Linked DNA regions of Homo sapiens: region 2 is linked to region 1. Evidence: promoter capture Hi-C in human tissues and cell types (Jung and others, 2019). All regions are on one chromosome and are shown on one strand. Each heading gives the region's core, a stretch centred on a gene start or on the middle of the fragment in contact. The rest is flanking DNA. Distances are from core to core; before and after follow the strand shown. Region 1 overlaps APBB1 (amyloid beta precursor protein binding family B member 1). Region 2 holds the start of CCKBR (cholecystokinin B receptor).

Region 1 (5,468 bases), core at 58-2,557:
TTAGGACTCTCATACAGAGGCCAGTGCCAGCCTGATGTGAGCTGAGAGCCCATACCCTGAGGCCACAGCAGGCCATGTCCAGGCTTTTTCATTCAGAGAGTGCTTGGACATTCTGGTAGATCTGACCATCATGCATGCCCGGATGGATGGATCTATTCATTATGCATGCCACCATGGTTGATAAGTGGACTAGTTTACTGGGCACTGACTAGGTAACTGGCCCTCTGCTCAGCATTTTCAGGCTTTATCCTTACAATAAAGCTGTGAGGTAAATATTATGATGATTCCCATATTACAGATAACAAAAAAGAGATCCAGAGAGGTTTAGTAGCTTTCTCGAGACCACAGACAGGCTGAGATTACAATAGAGCTGAAATCTAAACCAGGTCTCAGTCCAGGCCTGAGCTCTTGGCCCCGTGTTATGCTGCCGCCAATGCATAGAGCACAATGCACTCAGGTGCACTTGGGACAGTCGGCCCCGTTTTTTTTTTTTTTGAGACAGAGTCTCACTCTGTCGCCAGTCTGCCCCGTTTTAACAGGTCACGCCTGTTGGGAGCAGCCAGCAGCTCCCCACAGAGGTCTGTTTGGAAAGACTGGGAATGTTGTGTGCTTATAATCCACATGCTCCAGCACCATTGCAAGGATACAGTTTTGTCAGGAGTAGGATATTGACTAAAAGTTAGAAAAGAAAACCCTTTGGGTAGGGGGAGGAGAATAGATACTAGGACTCCAGGGCTTAATCATTAAATATGTCCATTTAAATTAAGCTGAGTCTCCACATTTTCTAATGTCGTGTAGCGAATACAGGAAAAGCTGAGGAACAAAGAGTGGAGATAATGGGCTATAGTTACAACCAAAACCCTGGAGTTTTGTAGATGGAGGTCTAAGAAAGATTAGGAAAGACCCCTATCCTTACCAGGTGGCGGACACAATACCCATACCCCAAACTGTGCAATCTTTGTGGAGAACATGCAGTTCAGATGAGCCTAGGGCTGCACACCATCCCCTTTCGAAAAACTCATTCTGGACATTTTCAAACATACACAAAAATAGAGAGAAAAGAATAATGAGCCTGATTTACCCACGAGCCAGTTTTACCAATTATCAATACATAACTAATCTTGCTACCTGCATGCTCTCTTCCGTTCCTAGGCCCAGCGTAGGTTATTCTGAAGCAAATACTTTTATCTATAAATGTTTACAGCTGGGTGCAGTGGCTCACACCTGTAATCCCAGCATTTTAGAAGGCTAAAATGGGTAGATTGCTTGAGCCCAAGAGTTCAAGACCAGTCTGAGCAACATGGCAAAACCTCTCCTCTATAAAAAAGACAAAAAAATTAGCCGGGAGTGGAGGCATCAGCCACTGTGGTCTCAGCTACTCAGGTGACTGACCTGAGAGGATCATCCGAACCCAAGAAAGTCGAGACTACAGTGAGCCATGATTGAGCCACTGCATTCCAGCCTGGATGGCAGAGAGAGACCCTTTCTCAACAACAACAACAACAGTTTACTTTTGCATTTCTGAAAGATAAAACTCTTAAAAAAAAAACCCACCACAATATCATTATTGTACCTACAAAAATTTAATAATAATTCTTTAATATCATTAAATATCCTGCCAAAAAAAGGCTGGATTGAGCCTGGGCACAGTGGCTCACGCCTGTAATCCCAGCATTTTGAAAGGCTAAGGTGGGTGGATTGCTTGAGGCCAGGAGTTCAGAAACAGCCTGGTTAACATGGTGAAACCCTGTCTCTACAAAAAACACAAACATTGGCTGGGCATGGTGGCTTATGCCTGTAATCCCAGCACTTTGGGAGGCCGAGGCAGGTGGATCACGTGAGGTCAGGAGTTCGAGATCAGCCTGGCCAACATGGTGAAACCTTGTCTCTACTAAAAATACAAAATTAGCTGGGCGTGGTTACAAACGCCTGTAATCCCAGCTACTCGGGAGGTTGAGGCAGGAGAATCACTTGAACCCGGGAGACAGAGGTTGTGGTGAGCTGAGATAGAGCCATTGTACTCCAGCCTGGGCAATAAGAGCGAGACTCCTTCTCAAAAAAAAAAAAAAGAAGGAAAAAAAAAATGTAGAGACAGTGTCTCACCATGTTGCCCAGGCTGGTCTTGAACTCCTGTTCTCAAACAATCCTCCTACCTTGGCTTCCCAAAGCACTAGGCTTACAGGTGTGAGCAACCATGTCTGGCCTGATCTATCTGTTAAAGTTATGTTTGATCAAGTTCCCCTTCTATTTTTTTCGTTGTTGTTGTTTGCAGTTTTGCTTTTGTTTTTTAACTGGAGAATCATGTTGCTTGTCCTGAGTTTTCTATGGTTTGGATTTTTCAGACTCTCTCCTGTGGTCATATTTACCATGCTCCTCTTCCCCTGGATTTCCTGTAAATTGGTAGTTAGTTCTAGAGCCTTGATCAGATTCAGATTTGAGCATTTTTGTGTTTTGCTTTTGCAAGAATATTTCATAGGTGGTATTAAATACTTCTACTAGGCCGGGCGCGGTGGCTCACGCCTGTAATCCCAGCACTTTGGGAGGCCGAGGCGGGTGGATCATGAGGTCAGGAGATCGAGACCATACTGGCTAACAAGGTGAAACCCCGTCTCTACTAAAAATACAAAAAATTAGCCGGGCGCGGTGGCGGGCGCCTGTAGTCCCAGCTACTCGGGAGGCTGAGGCAGGAGAATGGCGTGAACCCGGGAAGCGGAGCTTGCAGTGAGCCGAGATTGCGCCACTGCAGTCCGCAGTCCGGCCCGGGCGACAGAGCGAGACTCCGTCTCAAAAAAAAAAAAAAAAATACTTCTACTAAAGGCAAAGTCTGATTGCCTCTCTTTTTTGTGATGTTAGTGGCCTTTGGTGGTCATTGTCTCAACTCCTTTTAAAAGGAACAGCCCCTCCTGCACTCCAGCTGATTATTTTTGGGATTGGGGTGAGGAAAAATATAGTCTCAATGCAGCCAGTTAAAGGGAAACTGAAAACTAGATATTGGTGTAAAATAGCCCAATTTCTAAACGTTAACAACAAATTCTATTTTTTAAAAAGCACTGTGCAGGCCACACACAATCTATCTGAGGCTTGCATCAGTCTGCAGGTTGTAGGTTGGAAGTTTGCAAGACTAGGGGGTGTGAGTCAGTGACCAAATAGAGGCCTAGTTGCTCACTTGCCCCTGGGATGGTCACTGTGGGGGCTGCAACTCTGAACTACCTATGAAGCTTCTAGGAGTAGGGGGATAGTACTGCTGAAGAGCTGGGGCGGGTTTGCTGGGCAGTGACCTCAGCAAGGATGTTGGAGTGGCAAGAGGATTCTCAAGGATCATGCACTGGTGGAGACATTGTGAATTGAGGATAGAGGTGGGGGCCAGCCCAGGAAAGGGGCCAAGTCACTCTTTTACAACTGTGTTGCTATGACCATGAGGGCTGCAGAGAAGGTTTGTGCTCCTGCAGAAATGAGGCTAGAATTGAGCAAAAATTATATTCTCCTTCCTATTGTAGGATATTCATAGAGCTATGGATTGAATGCATAAATGCATGAATTCATGAATTAAATGAATGATGAATGAATAAACTTTACTACCTGTATTGAATTCATACTCTGCTCCAGGCCTTATCGTAAATGCTGGAAATGTATACTATGGGGCAAAGATGTTCTTACCTCCTGGCCTTCACAGCCTGGTGAGGAGACAAAGAAAGAAACAAGTGGTTATGATCAGTGCGATGAGCTCTCTGGGGCTGGGGAAGTACAGGAGGGGCCCCTGACCCTGCCTGTGAGAGTGGTGGGGGAGAGGGCAATGGGTCAGTTTTAAGAAGGGACCTGTATACTGATGTCTGAAGGAGAGGTAGGTGATAGCCAGGTGAAAATCGAGAGTAAGGGAGGTGGGCTGGGAGAGGACAAGGGGGCATGTCCCAAGCAAAGAGAGAGAAGGGGAGTGGCTGGAGGTAAGGCTGAGAGGCAGACAGGGGTTCATGACAGCACATAAAACCTGGGGAGGAATTTGGACTTTATCCTGAGGGCAGTGACAAAACAATTAAGAGGATTCCGTTGGAAAATTACTTGATTAGTTTAGCATCTCAGAAGAATCATTTGGGCTGTACTGTGCAGCTGAGATTGGAGGAGACCAGATAGGAAGAGAAAGACCAGTTATGATGTTTTTGCAATGATGCAGGTTAAAAAAAAAAAAGCTAGTAGCCTGGGCTATGTTAGTTATGTGGGGTGGAGAGAAGGGGAAAGCTTTAAGTCAATCACTGATTCCTGAGCAAGTGAGTACACCTGGCTTCACCACTAAGGCATTTGTGGATGAACGAATGAAGGAAGGAAGGAATGATACGTGAACATTTAATGTATTTTATATGTAAGTGTCGCATGAATCGATGCAGGAGTGAAGGTGTGCGTTCTGGAATAAATGCATGTGTGTGAAAGCAAAGGCCGGGGTGGGCTGCGCTTGGAGGGAGATGTGCCAAGCTCCAGAAGGGCCTCCCAGATGGCCAAGGGGGGAGAAACTGCCCTTCCAGGACAGATCGGAAGGATGAAGCTCTTTGAAGCAGGAAGGTACAGGCTGACAGGGATGGCAGATGGATTGGTGTGTGTGACTCAGTCAGGAGATGGTGAACTGGTCCCCAGATTCCAGAAGTGTCCAGCCAGCCCTCATGAAGCAGGCTGTGGCTGTGGAGGGCATGGAGGCCCTAGGGTGCTGTTCCTGGAAGGTTTTAGCAGGAGAGTCCTGAGGCAATGGAGGGTCTCTAGGGAACAGCAGGTATTCCCTGAGCCTCAGCTAAGTTTCAGGTGCCTATTGAAAACCTTATTCCATAGAGTGTGAGTTAGGGGGAAGTGGGGGTGAGGAGAGGCGGTGATGGCTGCCTAGAAGGTGGATGGGCAAGAGCCCCTCCTCTTTGGGTGTCTGTGGGCCCACGTCATTTGGAAGCTGAGGATGGTGAAGCACCCTGCCTGAATAACTCTCGTCAGGTGTGCAGCCACCTTGGCGTAACCACGCCCACTCCCAGCCCTGCTGTGTCTGGTTGCCCAGCAGCAGGGTCTTGGGACTGCCTGTCCCTTAGTACTGCCTCTTGGACCAGTCAGGATTCCTGGTTTCCCTGGTAACGGGAAGCACGTCAGCAGTCTGGGCGCTCCCAGCCGGTCCTGGTGCTGCGGTTGCCGAGGAGACGCTGCAGCCTAGCTGGGCCCTGGCAGGTGAGGGGTGGGGGGTGGTGCTGGGAAGCCCCAAGCCCAGCCTCAAGCTTGCTGGGGCTCAGGACCTCAAAGCCCACCCTTGGGTTCAAACTGCTGTGCAGGTCCTGGACAGGGGCGGGATCCCTGAAGGCCTTGAAACCACACCCTATTTATGCTGACAGCTATAGGCTCTGCAGGGCCCCAGGCAGCTGGGGTATTCCTTAGGGGCTGAGTCTCCTGGTATCCCTAAGACTGGGCTTGGCTTAGGCACTGAGGTAACCACTGGAGGGTGGGATGGA
Region 2 (7,731 bases), core at 2,617-5,116, 150 kb after region 1:
GCCAAGGATTTAGAGACCAGCCTGGGCAACATGGAAAAACCCTATCTCTACAAAAAATACAAAAAATTAGCCACTTGTGGTGGCACATGCCTGTAGTCCCAGCTATTTAGGGGGTTGAGGTGGGAGGATCACTTGAGCCTGCGGAGGTCAAGACTGCAATGAGCCATGATCATGCTACTGCACCCCAGCCTGGGCAACAGAGGGAGACTGCCTCAAAAAAAAAAAAAAAAAAAAGATGTTAATCTGAGTAAATGAAATAACTGAGCACCTGAGTGAATGTAAGTAATATTTAAGCTTTTGTGGGTATTATCTGAGTATGTGAGAGTAATATTTGTAATTTTATGGGTAGTATCTGGGAAAAGCTTACTTAAGTGAGCATAGGTAATATCTGGTTGTGTGTGGATAATAATAAAATGAAAGTGAGTAGTGTTTGATGGATGGGTAACACCAAAATGACTTCGGACAATATTAAAGTGAGTGTGGTAACATTTGTCTTTCTGTGGGTACTATCTGAGTGAACATGGGTAATACTCAAGTCTGCATGGATTATATAAGGAGAATAAAGTGGTAACATCCAAATTCCTATTGGTAACATTGGAGTGAACCTGGGTAACCTATGCATCTGCAGGGATAATATCTGAATGAGTGTGGCTGACAGGGTCTCTGTGTGTAACATCTGACTGGCTGGGTAACATCCAAATGTGTGAGGAGCATTTAGATAAGTGAGGCAAATTTTTGCACCTGTGCTCTGAATTGCGTCACATCCCGCTTTCACAGGGAATCTTCTCTATTGACTATCCCCTTTCTTATCTGCACCTTCAATCTTCCTCTCTCGGCCCAATCACCAACAAACATTTTAAAAAGCTCTTGTTTTAAAATGCGTGCACACACACGCGCACACACGTAACAAACCTATGCACATACCCACTCCCCCCTTCCTCAATCTCATGCTATTTTTGGCAATATCCTGCTTTTCTTTCTCTCTCTCTCTCTCTCTCTCTCTCTCTCTCTCTCTCTTTCTTTGCCTACCAGACTTCTTGAAAGTTTTGGCTACATACCTTGGTTCACTTCTCATAACTCCTTCTCTCACCAGTCCAATCTTTAACCTACCATAGTCAAGCCTCAATACCTACAACTCCTAAATATTTTCTTGTTATTGAATGTGAAGGATGCTGTTCTGACTGTCCTGTTTTTTATTTATGTAACTTATGTCAATAGCATTTGATATCACTTACCCCAACCTGCTTGAAACTCTCTTTTTCTTGCTTTCTGGAAGGGCGTAGCTCCTGCCTTTCTGATGGTTTCATCTGAATCTCCTTCATAAATTCTCCTTTCTCTGCCTGGCTTTTAAATAATGGTCTTATGCAGAGTCTTGACCTAGGACCTATTTTCTTCTCATTCTATACAAAATTTTATGATTTTAACTATTCTCGGGGCTTCTACATCCTGTAGGCAAAGACCTTCTTCAAGTCTGTATTTCCACCTCAGACCTCTCCTGTAAGTTCCAGACCCCTGGATTCAACAGCTTACTAGGTAACCTCACCTGGATGCCCCACTAACATTTAAACTCAATGGGTTCCAAACTGAATTTATAATTCCCTCTTCCAAACCTGTTTCTGCTGTTTTGTTATCTTTCTCATTGTATACAATTGCTATAGCACCAATATCCATTCAGTTGTCCAAGTTAGAAATCTGAATGTCATCCCTTGACCTCTTCCATCCTCTCTGCTTCTAATCTGTTGATTCCATTTCCAGAAGAGGCTCTCAAATCTATCCACCTCTCTCCATCTCCCTTGCCATTACCTTAGTCTCAGCTAGCATCATCTTTCACCCAGAACAGTGTAATATAGTAACCTTGTAAAGTATCCCCCTGCCTTCCATCTTATGTCTTCCAATCCGTTCTCCACATTATAGAACTAATCCTGGTAGTACTACCGAATCTTTTAGTAGTTCCTATTGCCCTCGGGAGAAAGTCCATGTTCCATGGTCAGGCCTAGCAGGCTCTCTGCAAACCCTCTAGGCTGGTCTCCAGCCTGTTCATTATTCCCTTCTTAAGATATATGTTCTAGTCACTCAAAACTATGTCACAGTGGATAAAAGTGCCATGAATTCAAACTTTGAGCTTCTTATACATCTTGTCCTTTTATTTGGGATGCTTTCTGCCTCTTCTGCCCGTTCACTTGGCTGGCTCTCCCATATGTATATGTGTGTGTGTGTGTGTGTGTGTGTGTGTGTGTGTGTATATATATTTTTTTTTTTTTTTTTTTTTGCCAACAGGAAGCTTAGAGCCAGCCTCCCTAATTTTTTTGACTTTGTAGCTCATTTCCTCAAGAGGCCAACTTTAATTCTCAAGGAGGCTGGGCTGGGCTAGAGGTGTTCCACTTGTGTTCCCACTATCTTTTCCCTGTCAAGGCTCTTCCACTTTGTGCTGCAATCCCCTGCTTTTCTGTCTCGCCCATTAAACTTTGAGCTCTGTGAAGTAGGAATTGTGTCGGTTTTGTTCAACTTACATTCCCACTGCCTAGCACAATCTCTGGTTCAATAAATATTGGCTGAATGACAGAATCCAAGTGTGAGTGTGTAACAACTCGGCTGAGAAAGCATAGATTATTTCGTGGGGTAAATAAATACTTGGATTACAATTTATTCCAACTTTCCCTTTTTGAGTTTAGAAAAATTTCCTTCTGCTTAACATTGCTCCTTCACCTAGAATCCCACTCCTTCCTTTTCTGCCTACTCAACTTCAAGACCCAGCTCTAAGGTTCTAGCCTCTGTGAAGTTCTTTTGGTGCCCACAGTTTAGACCCTTTCATGGGACTTCCATTGTGTCTGTGATTTTTCCATTTGCTTGGTTTCTCTCTGCACTTGGCTATGGGCCATGAGGGTCCAGACTGGGTCTAGTTTGCCCTGTGCCCCCAGCACCTAGCCTAGGGCTGGAGAGAGAGCTTGGAAGATAGCTGGAGACATTACTTGCAGACAAAGAGAGAGGGCACAGAGCCTCGAAAGCTCCAACTAGGGAGGCAGAGGGGTTTGAGAAGGAGTGAAATGGAGGCAGGCAGCTCTAAGGAGCATCCCCTAGTGTCCAGCCTAATTCAGATTTGAGGATCTTTTTTGGGATGGCTGGGGGCTGGGGTGTCAGATGTGATCACAACTTCAGCTTCGCATTCAAGCTTTCCAGAGTGCTCCCTCCCTCAACCAGCCCCCTTCTTTTCCCAGTCCTGCCTTCCTTTCTTCCTTCCCTTCTCTGTTGTGGCTCTGTGAACTGGATGTAAGAGGGAAAAGGAGATCTGCAGGGTTGGCAAGAGGAGGTCCTCGCCTTCTGACTGGTGTCTAGGAGGGGCTGCGTGTTGGGGAAGGGGCTGTGCTTTGGGGTGAGCAGGGGCTCTAGGTGTATTCAGGGGACCAGGATGTGAAGGAGTTCCGACCAGGTGGTGTGAAGCTGTGATGAAGTTGTAGGCTGTGGGGGTGAAGGTGTGAGGGGAGCTGTTTGGGGGCTGAGGGAGTACTATGAGAGGCACGGTGTGGACGTTTGAGAAGGTAGTGTGGAGCTCGTTGGGGGGACTCTATTAGTGTTCTGGGGTACAGTGAGAAATAGCTTGTGGGGGGGGCTGAGGGAGGCACCCACCTCGTGTCCCGGCTCCGCGAATGCGAGGGGGCTCGCAGCTGAGGTTGCCCACACTGCTGCTGTTGAGGAGAGGCGCCCCCGGGCGGCACAGGGAAGCCCCCGGCCCGGGTCCGGTTCCCTGCACGCTCCGGTTCAGCTTTAGCAGCTCCATGGCCCCCGCCGAGCCCGCCGCCTTACTCAGCTCGACCCGGCGGGCTCCCAACGCGGCTCCACCTGCTCACGCTGCGATTCCGGCTCAGGCTCCCGCCGCCCTCCTCTCCCTGCCCCCTGCCCCGCCTGGTCCCCGCCCCCAGCCCAGGCGCCTGCCCTCCACTCTCCCGCGGCTCGCCCCGCCTGGGTTCCCGTCCCTCCGCCAGCCTCTGTCCCGCCAGGTGACTGTGCACCCCCTCCCTGGCTCGGGAGTTCTGCCCCTCCCTGTGCGACTGTCCTCCAGGCTCGCCCCCTCCCTAGATGTGTCCCGTCTCCTCTTAGAGATTTCTCTCCTGCCCACCTCTCTTTATCACCCGCCCCCACCCCCGATTCCCAGGAATGAGAGAGAGAGAGAGAGAGAGAGAGAGAGAGAGAGAGAGAGAGAGAGATTGAAGACAAGAGTATTGGCAGCGTAGGGGGAGGTTTCGGGGAAGGGAGGGTAGGAGGGGTTGGGTAGAGACGGCTGCCACGGATCCAGCATCTTTCTCTGGTGTATCAGGGAACGTGGAGGTGGCGTTGGAGACCAGGTCTGCGTGCGTCACCTGCTGAGGCGCGGATGCTTTAGTCTGAGCCTAGAGCCGCATTTACCGTACTGTGTTGCAGTGGCCGCAGTGACCGTGACACTATTGCTACCGTAGTTCCCTGCAGCTCCTCGCTGCGGGCCTGGGGTAGCTCCTGCATCTGTCTCCGCACCCTCCATCTCCTGTCTGAGGCTTAACACTCAGGCTTGCACTTAAGGGTCCCAAGGAGCCCTCCACAGCTGGGCGGGAGTGGGGGTGGGGCCGGGGCCGAGATTTGGCTCCAGGGAAGCCTTGCCAGGGAAAAGGGCTCCCGGGAGGAAGCTTCTGACTTGAGTGTTGAGGGCAGTTGGGGGTGGTGGCAAGCACTGACAAGGATAAACCAGAGTAAGGTGAGGATGGGATATAATTCTAACGCCGGCCCAGCGCAGGCAAAAGAGAAGGAGAAGGTTGGCTTTCTCCACCGTCTCCAGGCAGCGCCCACGCCCACCCGACACGCTAACGCTCCCTGTTTGCTCTCAGTGCAGGCAGAGCTGCCTGTGTAGGGTGTCAGGTTCCCACGAGAGGGGGCTAGAAGGGGACTGGGTCACTGCGGTGCAGCGGGAACAGGGCTGAAGGGTGCAGGACTGAACTGGGTTCAGCTTCTCGGGGCAGGATTTGCCTCTTCTACTATTTCAGCCCTGCTCCCTATGCATTCTCCTATCCATTCCTTTTCTTCCCCAGATTCCTATCTCCAGATTCCTATCTCCAGATTCCTATCCATTCTTCAGATTCCGGATGAACTCCAATACGATGTGAAATTCTTCTGACCCCCAGCAGTAGCTGTAAGAGGTTGGGGGCGGGCATCAGTGGAAGAGCAAATTAGAGAATGGAGTCTGGCTTTATGGGGGATTCAGCAGGCCCTTATCCAATTAATCTTTTGGAGAGGACCTGGTTCAGCCAGCCCTGAGTTTATAGGGGCTGAAGCATTGAAAGAGAGTTGAAAGACAGTTTATGCCTGAGATGTCATCAACTGCTCCCCCTTTCCTTCCTCCTGGTACTGCCTGTCTTGCCCATCAGAGAGCCTGGACCAGAGGAGCTTGATTTGCTATTTGTTCCGCTCCAGCACAGGTGGGGCCTCAGATAACCTGCTCAAGTTTTCCCACATTGGATGACAGTACGATGAGGAGGGAAGGGAGCAAAGGATGTAAGGGAGAGGGGAGTGAAAATAGAAATAGATGGACATTCACTTATTTAGCAAACTATGCCAGTTCTAGGGGTATGCACTAGTTGTCCAATATAGTTTGCCCCTCAGTAGCACCTACTCTAGTGGGATTTTCCCAAGCAAGCCAATGATTGTAATATATGGTCGTTAAGTGCACCCACCAGGATGTACAAATCAGAAATTTAGGAATTATTATTGATGCCTTACTCCCCTATGCTCCTTCACCCCTGCGCTGGATGCTGTGATGCAAAGCCCAGAACCCTCTTCAAAAATGGAGGATTTATTTTCCAGCTGTGGAGAGTGCTCCTAAAAGATGGCCCTCAGCTGTCATAACCCTTCAGGAGTTGCCTAAGCAGAAGAAAGCCAGCTCATCCAAGGTTATGCTCCCTTTCTTGGGCATTCTATATCCAATGACCGATCAGCACAGAGGTATAAAAGTTTAATCCCCTCAACCCAGTGGTGGACAACTCTGAAAGATGCTCACACCCCTAGAACCCTTCATATGGTTGACTGAGGTCTTTGCTGGGACTGAATTACTACTCAGCTTCTCCTTTTGCCCAATCCTATTTTCATCCTCTCTCTTGCACAGGTGTTAACTCCAAGAACGCTCCTTAGTAAACATCCTCCACAGTAATCTTTGTTTGAGAGTCTGCTTCCTGGGGAACATAACTACATCACTCCCATATTGAATCAATCACAAAGTCCTGTTCATTTTAGCTACTGAGTGTTCCTTGAATCTGCCTGCTTATATGTCCACTGATATTACCCTACTCTTGAACCACACTCCTAACCTCCTAAATGGGCCACCACATTTTACTGATGCCTCTCTACATCTATACTTCACCTTAAAGCCGAAGTACTATGCTCAGAATACAAATCTGACTATCCCACTCTTTTGACCTTTGCTTTTGGGAATGAGAAAACATATTAACAGAATTTAGAAAGCCTGTGAGGCCTGGCTCCCACTTACCTCTCTAGCCACATTATTTCAAATCACATTATTTCAAATAAGAGTCACAATGATTCTTATTCTCTCCACTGTAAACACATTAGCCTTTTTTTGGTCACTCCTTCTTTTTTCTCTTTTATTTTTCTTTTTTCTTTTCTTTTTTTTTTTTTTTTTTTTTGCTATATGTCCTTCAGTTGCATGACTTTTCCATATGCTCTCTGGAAGCTTCTTCTTTCCTTCCTTACCTAGTTAACACTTACTCATCCATCTGATCTCAGCTCAAGCTACGATTCTTCAGGGATATTTCCCCTGGCTTCCTCTCCTTGGGTAGGCAGAATTAGAAGATGACCACCAATGACTGTCACCCTTATATAATCTTCTTTTGTGTGTGGATGGACCTGTGCATATGATGAGATACTACTCCCACAATTATGTTATATGGCAAAAGGGATTTTGCAGATGGAGTTAATTCTACTAATCAGTTGATCTCAAGATAGACAGATTATCTGGCTAGTCCTAACCAAGTCACATGAGTTCTTTAAAAGCCAAGGGTTCTTTTTTTCTTGCTGGTAGCAGAAGAGGAAATCAAAGAGATTGGAAGAATGAGAAGAATTCAACACACTGTTGATAGCTTGAAGATGGAGGGGATAATGTGGCAAGGAACGAATGGTGGCTGTTTTCTGGCTCGAGGGTGAAGGAGGGCACAGGACAAGCCCTGAGAGTGGCCTCTAGTTGACAGCAGTCTCTAGCTGACAGCCAGCAAAAGAACAGAGACTTCAGTCCTCCCCCGAGTCTGTAGAAGAGAATTCAGTCTGGCTGAAACCTTGATTTCTGATACCCTGAGCAGAGAACCCAGCCACACTGTGTAGACCTCTGGCCAATAGATCTGTGAGCTAATAAATGGGTGTTGTTTTTAGCCACTACATTCATGGTAATTTATTACAACAGCAACAGACAAATCATACACCTTCTATCTCATGAGGCAGCAAATGCAGACTCTTGCAAGCCATGCAAGGAAGAATTGGGAGCATTGGAAATTTGTTAAGATTTAGAAAGATTTGGAAAGATTGCAGTGGAGTTAGTGTGGGGAGCAACTTAAAAGGTGGGACCAATTGGGAGTCTATGACAGTAATTTGGGTGAGAGATGGTAGTGGCTTGACCTAAAGTCATGGACGTAGTGGAAAAGATTGATCTAAGACCTATCTAGGAGGTAGAAACAGAATTTAAAGATAATTTGCATGTGGAGG

Evidence for each region. The method cuts DNA at HindIII sites, captures the fragments that hold promoters and counts their contacts. A contact is called where the count stands out against the background at its distance.
Region 2: a contact is called between the fragment with the promoter of CCKBR here and a fragment that was not itself captured in region 1, in 1 of the 25 tissues and cell types used here (dorsolateral prefrontal cortex).

The regions. Positions count from the first base shown.
Region 1 is chr11:6,405,109-6,410,576 of GRCh38, reverse strand. The region is part of intron 2 of APBB1 (amyloid beta precursor protein binding family B member 1); the gene reads left to right. Among named protein-coding and RNA genes, the nearest start is that of APBB1, 11 kb to the left of the region's middle. RefSeq lists a silencer at 4,964-5,258. The HindIII fragment of the contact is 6,856 bases long and covers 1-4,735 here.
Region 2 is chr11:6,255,973-6,263,703 of GRCh38, reverse strand. CCKBR (cholecystokinin B receptor) reads right to left here and starts at 3,866. Exons shown (of 5, transcript NM_176875.4): 1 at 3,625-3,866. The coding sequence starts at 3,775. The HindIII fragment of the contact is 2,957 bases long and covers 2,726-5,682 here.